2 separate regions of the Homo sapiens genome follow, and region 2 is linked to region 1. The links are contacts of gene promoters, found by promoter capture Hi-C in blood cells and fetal thymus (Javierre and others, 2016). All regions are on one chromosome and are shown on one strand. The core of a region is centred on a gene start or on the middle of the fragment in contact, and the rest is flanking DNA. Distances in the headings are between cores, read along the strand shown.

The links. The method cuts DNA at HindIII sites, captures the fragments that hold promoters and counts their contacts. A CHiCAGO score of 5 or more calls a contact.
Region 2: a fragment that was not itself captured here is called in contact with the fragment with the promoter of SMCR5 in region 1 in 1 of 17 cell types (fetal thymus); the score reaches 5.3 in fetal thymus.

The regions. Positions count from the first base shown.
Region 1 is chr17:17,777,504-17,782,044 of GRCh38, reverse strand. SMCR5 (Smith-Magenis syndrome chromosome region, candidate 5) reads left to right here and starts at 2,516. Exons shown (of 1, transcript NR_024007.1): 1 at 2,516-4,541. The region is part of intron 2 of RAI1 (retinoic acid induced 1); the gene reads right to left. The region is part of intron 1 of LOC124903942 (a long non-coding RNA gene); the gene reads left to right. RefSeq lists enhancers at 621-1,510, 2,400-3,289. The HindIII fragment of the contact is 16,515 bases long and covers 1-4,541 here.
Region 2 is chr17:17,924,722-17,928,978 of GRCh38, reverse strand. All of the region lies in intron 1 of TOM1L2 (target of myb1 like 2 membrane trafficking protein), which reads left to right. Among named protein-coding and RNA genes, the nearest start is that of TOM1L2, 46 kb to the left of the region's middle. The HindIII fragment of the contact is 826 bases long and covers 1,923-2,748 here.

The DNA.
Region 1 (4,541 bases), core at 1,267-3,766:
CCCTTCGCCTCCCTCTCTCCCTCCCACCCCGCGCGCAGAGTGGCTGCGAGAGGCGGCTCCTGCTCTCCCCCCGCAAAAAGGGGGCGGCCGGCCCGGGGCCCCGAGCCCTCCGTTGGTTTTCGGCCTTCCCTCCTCAACGCCCACCCTTCTTCGGTCATTTACGAAGCTGGGGCTTCTAACACGCAGACCCTCCGGCAGCGGTGGCGCCAAGTGGGGCGCTGCCCCCGCCCCCCATTTCCAGTTCCCTCCCTAAGCCGCTCTAAACAAACACACCATTTAAACAGCAGCGGGCTGGCCGTACCAACAACTTTGAGGCAGACCCCACCCGTGCCTGCGACCGCGCCAGGGGACTGGGAAAGTGCCAGGGGCGCACAGTGGGGACTCCCCGAAGGCAGTTTAGTGCTGCCGTCCCCTTTTCAGGCTCACCCTCCCTTAGACTCACCCAGACCCCTCCCTCCCAGCCCCTTCCCCTGCGGCCAAGCACCCCAGGCCAGCAGCTCAGACTACCCTCCGCCCCCAGTCAGGGAATGAGGCCGCAGGAAGTTCAAGTAGGCTCCCATTACTCTGCTCTCCAAAAGGCCACCCATGCAAACCCCAGCCTGTCCTTCCCCCAAGAGGTGGGGAGCAGCAGAGGAGCTGACTGAGCTCAGAGGCCCCCCTGGGGCTTTGACTGGATCTCTCCCTCACTTGACATTTTGCAGACTGCTCCGTGCCCAATCCTGGAGACCCACAGGCATAGGAACCCGTGAGCACCTCCCTCCTGAAGGAGGTGGGGTAAGACTCCCTGCTGCAGCACAGAGGACGGAAGGTTGGAGGAAGTGGTGGGCTGAGAAAGGAGCAGGGCATTCCAGCCGCCAGGAGCTGCCTAGCTTGGTGGCGGGGAAGAATACCGCCTATTTGGGAACCTGAGATGGAGTTCTCTCTGTGGTTTAGCTAGTCTGGAGGAGACAGGCCTCAAGGGCTGGGCCCCTTCCCCAAGAGGGCAGCCTCTGGTGGGGGGTGGAGATTCCAGCAGAGAGGTAAGAAGCCTGGCAGGTTCCTAGCTCCTGGGAGGGGAGGGGGTGAGGATGCCTGTGGAATACAGATTAAAGACAGCGCTGACTCTGAGTGCTGGGCCCGGGACACTCCTGGGCCTGCCCAGAAAGCAAGGCTGGCCCAGAAGGGGAGAGACAGGGACACAGCCTCCTAAGCAAATGCAGAGCCTAGCATTACAGAGTGGGGGTTCTCAAGGGGCTTCTCCCCCAGCCAGCTAGACACTGGGCATGGACTTCCCTCATATCTGGAAAGGTCTTGATAAGGCTCAGACTGCTGGAGCCGTGTAACTGCAGCACCCTCAAAGGCTGATGCCGTCTGACCCCCTCCTGTGTCCAAGGTGCCTCAATAGATTTTACTTCTCTCAAACTGCCCTTCTGGGAGGTGACATCACCTGTCATTTCACAGACATGCAAACTGAGCTCCAGAGAAGAGAAGGGGGTATTCCAAACTCCAGCCTCTGGGGGCCCTCCCTGGTCCCCCTGTCCTAGGCCCTGAGGGGTGGGACCTCAATCGGGGAGATGCCCGTGGGGCTTTGGTGAATACAGGATACAGGCACCCAGGGGTGAAAGACATGGGCGAGGAGGTCCTGGTTCCCCCTGAAAATTTCAGAAAACTGGTTTTCTTGGGAGAAAAAAAGGGTGGGTGGCCGGGTGCGATGCCTCACGCCTGTAATCCTAGCACTTTGGGAGGCCAAGGTGGGTGGATCACTTGAAGTCAGGAGTTTGAGACCAGCCTGGCAAACATGTTGAAACCCCGTCTCTACTAAAAATATAAAAATTAACTTGACATGGTAGCATGCGCCTGTAATTCCAGCTACTCGGGAGGCTGAGGCATGAGAATTGCTTGAACCTGGGAGGCGGAGGTTGCAGTGAGCCAAGATTGCGCCATTGCACTCCAGCCTGGGGACAAGAGTAAAACTCTTGTCTTAAAAAAAAGCCTGGGTGGAGTGGCTCACTCCTGTAATCCGAGCACTTTGGGAGGCCGAGGCAGGCGGATCATGAGGTCAGGAGATCGAGACCATCCTGGCTAACACGGTGAAACCCCGTCTCTACTAAAAATACAAAAAATTAGCCGGGCGAGGTGGCGGGTGCCTGCAGTCCCAGCTATGCAGGAGGCTGAGGCAGGAGAATGGCGTGAACCCCGGGGGGCGGAGCCTGCAGTGAGCCAAGATCGCGCCACTGCACTCCAGCCTGGGCAAGGGCGAGACTCCGTCTATTAAAAAAAAAAAAAAAAAAAAAGGGTGGGGAGGGGACTAGAGAGAAGTCCCAGGGCCTACCATCACTGATTTCCCGCTACCCACTTGGCCAGGCTACCTACTAAGGGTTTCCATGTGGGGATTTGGCTCCTGGGGCTGCAGAATTATGATAATGAGGCCTAAGTCCACATGGGTCTTGTTCCTTCATCTGTAGACCAAATACAAACCCTATGTAGCCATGTGCCACACTCTTCAACTGTGTGTAGCTACTGTTGTGCTGAAAAAAATTCACTCAGGGCCTAAGAGCTTTGGGCAGTTAAATCCCCCTCCCCGACAACAGACTAACAGGTCCCATTTTGATATCAAGGGCTGGGGTTTCAAGACAGGGAACTGTGGGGCCCACGCTGTCCTGGCCTCCCTGGAGGCCTGGCTGCTCTCATGCCAGGAAGGGAGCTTCCATTTACTACGGGCCTAGGATGGCCGCCCCGCTGCCCCCAGCGCTCCCTGGGTGGGTGCGGATCCTGGCCAGTCCCCCAGACACGCAGTCTGCTGACCAGAAGCAGCGACCTTCGGGGAGAGCCAGCCACCAGCCAGCCACTGCTCCAGAGGCAGGCCTGGGGCCACCCGGGAGGCTTTCCTCACCACGGAAAATATTTGCCTTTGGTTGTCGGCTGATGCCTTGTCTTGTGTCTGAATGGACAACTGGCTGATTTCTCTCTCTTTGGAACAGCCATGAAATGCGAAGGTGTTTAAGAGTAAAAACCAGGCGAGGGCAACTGGGCCTGGCGTCCAGCTGTTTTGAACAACACTCTTGTTTTTCTCCCAGAGTGAACAGAATACTTTCTGCGGTTCAGAATACTCTGTGCACTGGCCCCTCTTCCCAGGCCCCGCCCCAGCCCCCTCAGGCCTCACCTCCAGCTGCTGCAGACCATTCCAGAACTCCCTCCCTCTTGGCTTCTAGTCACTCAGCATCTGGGGGAGAGAGCCTCTTCCAGCTGTACATAGCTAGCTTGGCCTGGCCCCAGAACTGCTGTGTTCTGGAAAGTTGTAGGAGAATCCCTCTTGGCGGGCTCTCCAGCATGGAGAATCGCAGGCCTCTGCTCCGGAAAGGGAGGCTTTTGAGAGGTCAGATTCACCACAGCCAGACCAATGAACTGTGAGGGCTCATAGGGGCTGGGGCTCCGGTTTCAGGGGTGAGAGGAGCCACCATCTGCCCCCATGCCCACTCTGATTGTAAATGGCTAGACTCTGGTGCCGGGGTCAGCTCTGGATTCATATCCCAGCTCCTGCATATGTATATGCTGGGTGACCTTGGGCAGTTTACTTAACCTCTCTGTGCTTTGTGTGCCTAAGCTGCAAGATACTCTAAATTAAACAGCAAACTTTCAGTGCTGTTGTGGGACGAAATGGGATAATGTGCTTGGTAGCTGGCAGGGGCTCAATAAAAGGTAGCAACTTCCAGGGCCACCAGTTCATGGGGAGCCAGGTCCAAGTCTTGTACTTTCTATGCCTCCCAGGGAGCCACGTATGTCTGCGACAGAGCTGGGGAGGACATTCTGGGGCTGAGGGTTGAGGTCTGCCCATAGAGCAGCGGCCTGTACCTGCAGGCAGGTAGAGTATCATCCTGGCTGAGTCTCAGTGCTCCTCAAACATTAAAGTGTACATCCTGGTGAGACGCAGATTTTGATGCAGCGGGTCAGGTGGGACAGGGGTTCTGCAGCTGTAAGGAACTCCCAGGTCAAGCCAGTGTGGCAGGTCTGTGACCGCAGCTGGTACGGCAAGATCTCAGCCCTGGAAGACTCTGGGTTCTGCTGAGGCTGGGCTCAGAGAGAGAATACAAGTTTTGTCCTGTCCAAGGAGCACCCTCCAGGATTTCAGGACAAGGCTCTGGCTCTGTGTCCCCAAGCCCTCAGTCTCAGAGCTTGGGTCCTGCAGTGGCCTGGGCAACCCTCCGGACTCTCCATTCAGCATTTGTTCCTGACAGCAGTGCACGGATAAAGAGCAGTTTCATGCTGCTGAACTTGCAATCACTTCAAGGCCTGGGCCCCTCTGGGCCTCAGTTTCCCCACTGGCACAGTGGGAAGCTGGGATAAGCTAATCCCACCCTTTCCCCTTGGTAATTCCCCACATTGCTCTTCCCTTCCCTTCATCCCTTCCCAAAACACAGGTCTGAGGCCTGAGCATCCATCCTAGGGGCTGGGCCCCCATCCCCATGACTGCAGTCATGGGGTACAAGACTCATGCAGACTCGTAAGAACAGCCACTTCTGACCTGGGGCCTCGATGTTCCAGGCACTGTCCTAGGCATTTGC
Region 2 (4,257 bases), core at 1,086-3,585, 150 kb before region 1:
GTGTGGTCCAGCAAGGATCTAGACAGAAAGTCTGCTTGATTTTGTTTTGCCTTGCTGGCTTCATAAACCCACGTAGCAGAAGCACTTTGTGAATCAGAAATGGAAGCATTGTTCTCTGATACTGAGGAATGCCTTTCCTGAATGGCTACTGTGGGTGGGAATAGCTCTAAAGAAAAAAAAAATCCTGAGACACAGACAGCAGCTATTTATGTTCTATTCTGTTTGACACACATTATTGAATACCTACTGTGTGCTGGTAAAATTCATGGTGCATCAGGGAAGGCAGGTCCATGAGGAACCATTAGACAAGCAATAGGGGCTGGATGAGCCTCAGCAAGTGAGGACTGTGAGATCCCAGAAGAGTGCAATTAATTCATCTCGTGTGTGCATGCTCACGCGGGGGCCGTCTGGGGCCCTCACTGAGAGGAGGCAACGAGCTGAGTGTTAAAGGGAGGGTGTCGCCTTCTGTGTTCTCTTTTGACCCTTTCCATTATGTGAGCATGCATTTTTACCTTGTGGTGATTAGTATGCACATAATATTTTATCCTGCCTGTTTTCCTCTTAGCATTCCTATGCCGATTTCCACTTAGCGACTAGGCTGAAGTATTTATCATTTTAAAAAGCCACGTAGCGTTTTTGCCTTATTGATGTACCCTCGTTGCTTAGCCATCTTCTCGTTTGTTGGGAGCAGCAGTGTTTTTCTCAATTATGCATCTTTGCAGAATCAGCTCTCCCCTTCCCCCTTATTTATTTCCTTAGGGGGCTATTGCCGGGTCAAAGTTATGAATGGTTTTATGCTGTCTCCTACTGATTTTTTTTGTTGTTACAGAAAATTTCAGACATATACAAAAGGAAAAAGATGACTATAATGAACCCCCACATACTCATCATTGAGCTTCTACAATTATCAATTCATGGCAGTTTTGGTTCATCCATAGCCCCACACACTTTTATCCTGGATTATTTTTCAGTAAATCCCAGACATCATATAATTTCATCTATGAATACCTAAGTATGCATTTCTAAAAGATAAGGAATCTTTTTAAAAGTATAGCTGACTGGGTGTGGTGGTTCATGCCTGTAATCCCAACACTTTGGGAGGCCTGGGTAACATAGTGAAACCCTGGCTGTACCACGAATACAAAAATTAGCCAGGTGTGGTGGCACATGCCTGTAGTCCCAGCTACTCAGGAGGCTGAGGGTGGGAGGCTCACTTGAGCCTGGAAGGTTGAGGCTGCAGTGAGCCAAGATTGTGCCGCTGCATTCCCAGCCTGAGTGACTGAGTGAGATCCTGTCTCAAAAAAAAAAAAAAAAAGTATAGCCAACAGCTTATTATCATATCTAAAATAAATTAATCATAATCCTTAATATCATAAAATATCTAGTCATCCAACTGACAGTTTAAGATTCCCTAGTGTTTTCTGTGGCCATTCTCACGAGGCCAAATGTTTATTTGCTCCACCATGTTCTTCAGGGAATGTTTCCCTTGATGTATCACATTGAGGTTGAGTTCTTTATCAAGAAAGGTCTGCATGCAGGTCCTGGCCTCAGAAAGAGATGGAGGGAAAGAAGAAGGGATAAAGAGAGGCCTCTCTCCACAGCCTCTGCAGCTGGCCTCATGTGGTTTGCGCCACATAGGGTGGTAGGTTCTCTCTGCCCGTTACTCACATGGTAAACCCAGCTGTGCTGCTTTATCCACATACCAGCTTGACTTGGTACAGTGTGCTGAAAATAATGTCGGGCCTGTCCCTTTGGACTCCACCCCCATTGAAGAATGCAGTTTCATGCTGTTGGTTTTTTTAGTGCTAAAGAAACTAGATAGATACTGTGTTTATTTTTCTACAGTAAAAATCCGAAAAGCTAGGAAAATGCCTATTCCCTGTTGGATTTTGATCTTATTTGCATGTTTCCCTTGGCAAGCTTTGTTTCGTATTATTCAAGGTGACCCACTTAGAACTACTGTTTAAAGTCACATTGTCATTAATAAGTTACACAACCTGTGTGTGATAAGTCTGTTAGCCCTGAATATTGTATAAACAGGAATACATGCTTGTGTTGGGGCTCTTCTTCATATTTAAATATGGTTACATTTCTTTTTCTTTTTCTTTCTTCCTTTTTTTTGAGACAGAGTCCCTCTCTGTCGCCCAGACAGGAGTGCAGTGGTGTGATCCTTGCTCACTGCAACCTCTGCCTCCCAGGTTCAAGCGATTCTTGTGCCTCAACCTCTCAAGTAGCTGGGATTACAGGCGTGTGCTACCAGGCCCAGCTAATTTTTGTATATTTTGTAAAGATGGAGTTTCACCATGTTGGCTGGTCTTGAACTCCTGAGCTCAAGCAATCCGCCCGCCTCGGCCTCCAAAACTGCTGGGATTACAGGTGTAATCCATCACACCAGGCCCAAATATGGTTACATTTAAATGTAATCTTCCCTGTTTGTTCTCACTGTTGATATTCGTGACCTTTCTATGTTGATGAATAGGAGTAATTTCCCAGATGATCTAGAACCCTATTGTATTTGGCTTTGGAATGTGAAACACGTGTACATTTATGTCCGCATCTCCCCTTGTGCCAGTCCAGACTGGCTCTCAGTTTGGTCCTCCTTAACTAGCTGGGTACCCTGGGTGACCTCCTTTGGGACAAGGGAGAGTTAGCAGGGAGGCCTGGTCAGAATAAAATGCCTTTTGAGAGATATTGGGGTTACCAGGCTTTTATCCTTAAGTCTGTATGTTCAGACTAAGTAATGAAGCTTACTTATGTTTAGGCCAGCTTGAAAGCTTGTACCTAGCTTTTTTTTTTTTTTTTCTCCAAGAGACAGAGTTTTACTCTGTCCCCCAGGCTAGAATACAGTGGTATGATCACAACTCACTGCGGCCTCGACATCCTGTGCTCAAGTGATCCTCTCACCTCAGCCTGTGGAGTAGCTGGGACTACAGGTGCGTGCCACTGAGCCCTGCTAATTTTTAAATTTTTGGTAGAGACAAGGTCTTGCTGTGTTACCCAGGCTGGTTTTGAATTCCTGGGCTCAAGTGGACTTCCTGCCTTGGCCTTCCAAAGTGCTGGGATTATGGGCATGAGGCACCACGACTAACCTATAGCCTATACCTAGCTTTTTTTTTTTTTTTTTGAGACAGGGTCTCACTGTGTCACCCAGGCTAGAGTACAGTGGCACCATCATAGCTTACTGCAGCCTCCATCTCCTGGGCTCAAGCGATCTTCCTACCTCAGCCTCCCAAGTAGCTGGGACTATAGGCATGCGTTACCACATCTGGCTAATTTTTTTTTTTTTTTTTTTTTTTGGTAGACACGAGGTGAGGTCGCTATGTTGGCCAGGCTGGTCTTGAACTCCTGAGCTCAAGAGATCCTCCCACCTCAGCGTGGCAAAGTGCTGGGATTAGAGGCATGAGCCACTGCGCCTGGGCTATACCTGGCTATTTTTGATGGAAGAATTAAATAACTGGCTTTTAGTTTTGGTCATTAGTTTGCCACTTTCTTTCTTAGTCTTTTGCTGTATAATATCCTCTTTCCTTCTTTTTGTAACAGTAATAACATAAAAAATTTTTAAAGTTTGCCTTTAAGCCAAATACTTCAACACACTGATTATTTTCACTTTTTCCCATTTATCTTCCAGGCATTATCCATATGCATGTTTTTTTAAAAATCAATTTTGTGTCTTTTTTTTCTTACATCATTACAAAATGTTTCTATATGGTTTTAAGAATTATTACTTATAATGGCTGTATTAGGTTGTTCTTGCATTGCCATAAAGAAATACCTGAGACTAGGTAATTTATAAAAGAGGTTTATTTGGCTCATGGTTTTGCAGGCTGTATAGGAAGCATAGTACTGGCAGCTGCTTCTGAGGAGGCTTCAGGAAGCTTTTACTCATGGCAGAAGGGGAAGGGAGAGCAGGCACCTCACATGGTGAAAACAGGAACAAAAAACAGAGAGAGAGAGTGGAGGAGGGAGTGCCACACACTTTTAACTGACCAGATATTGCAAGAATTATCACAAAGACATCATCAAGGCATGAAGGATCTGCCCACCAGGCCCTACCTCCAGCATTGGGAACTACAATTCAACATAAGATTTGGGTGGGGACAAATATCCAAACTATATCAATAGCTATATAATATTCAGTGGAATCAATATACTATATTTAATCATCACTTTTTTATTTTATATTTGAGAAGTTTTAAGAATTTTATTTTATTTTTGAGGCAGGGTCTCACTCTGTCCCTCAGGCTGGAGTGCAGTGAT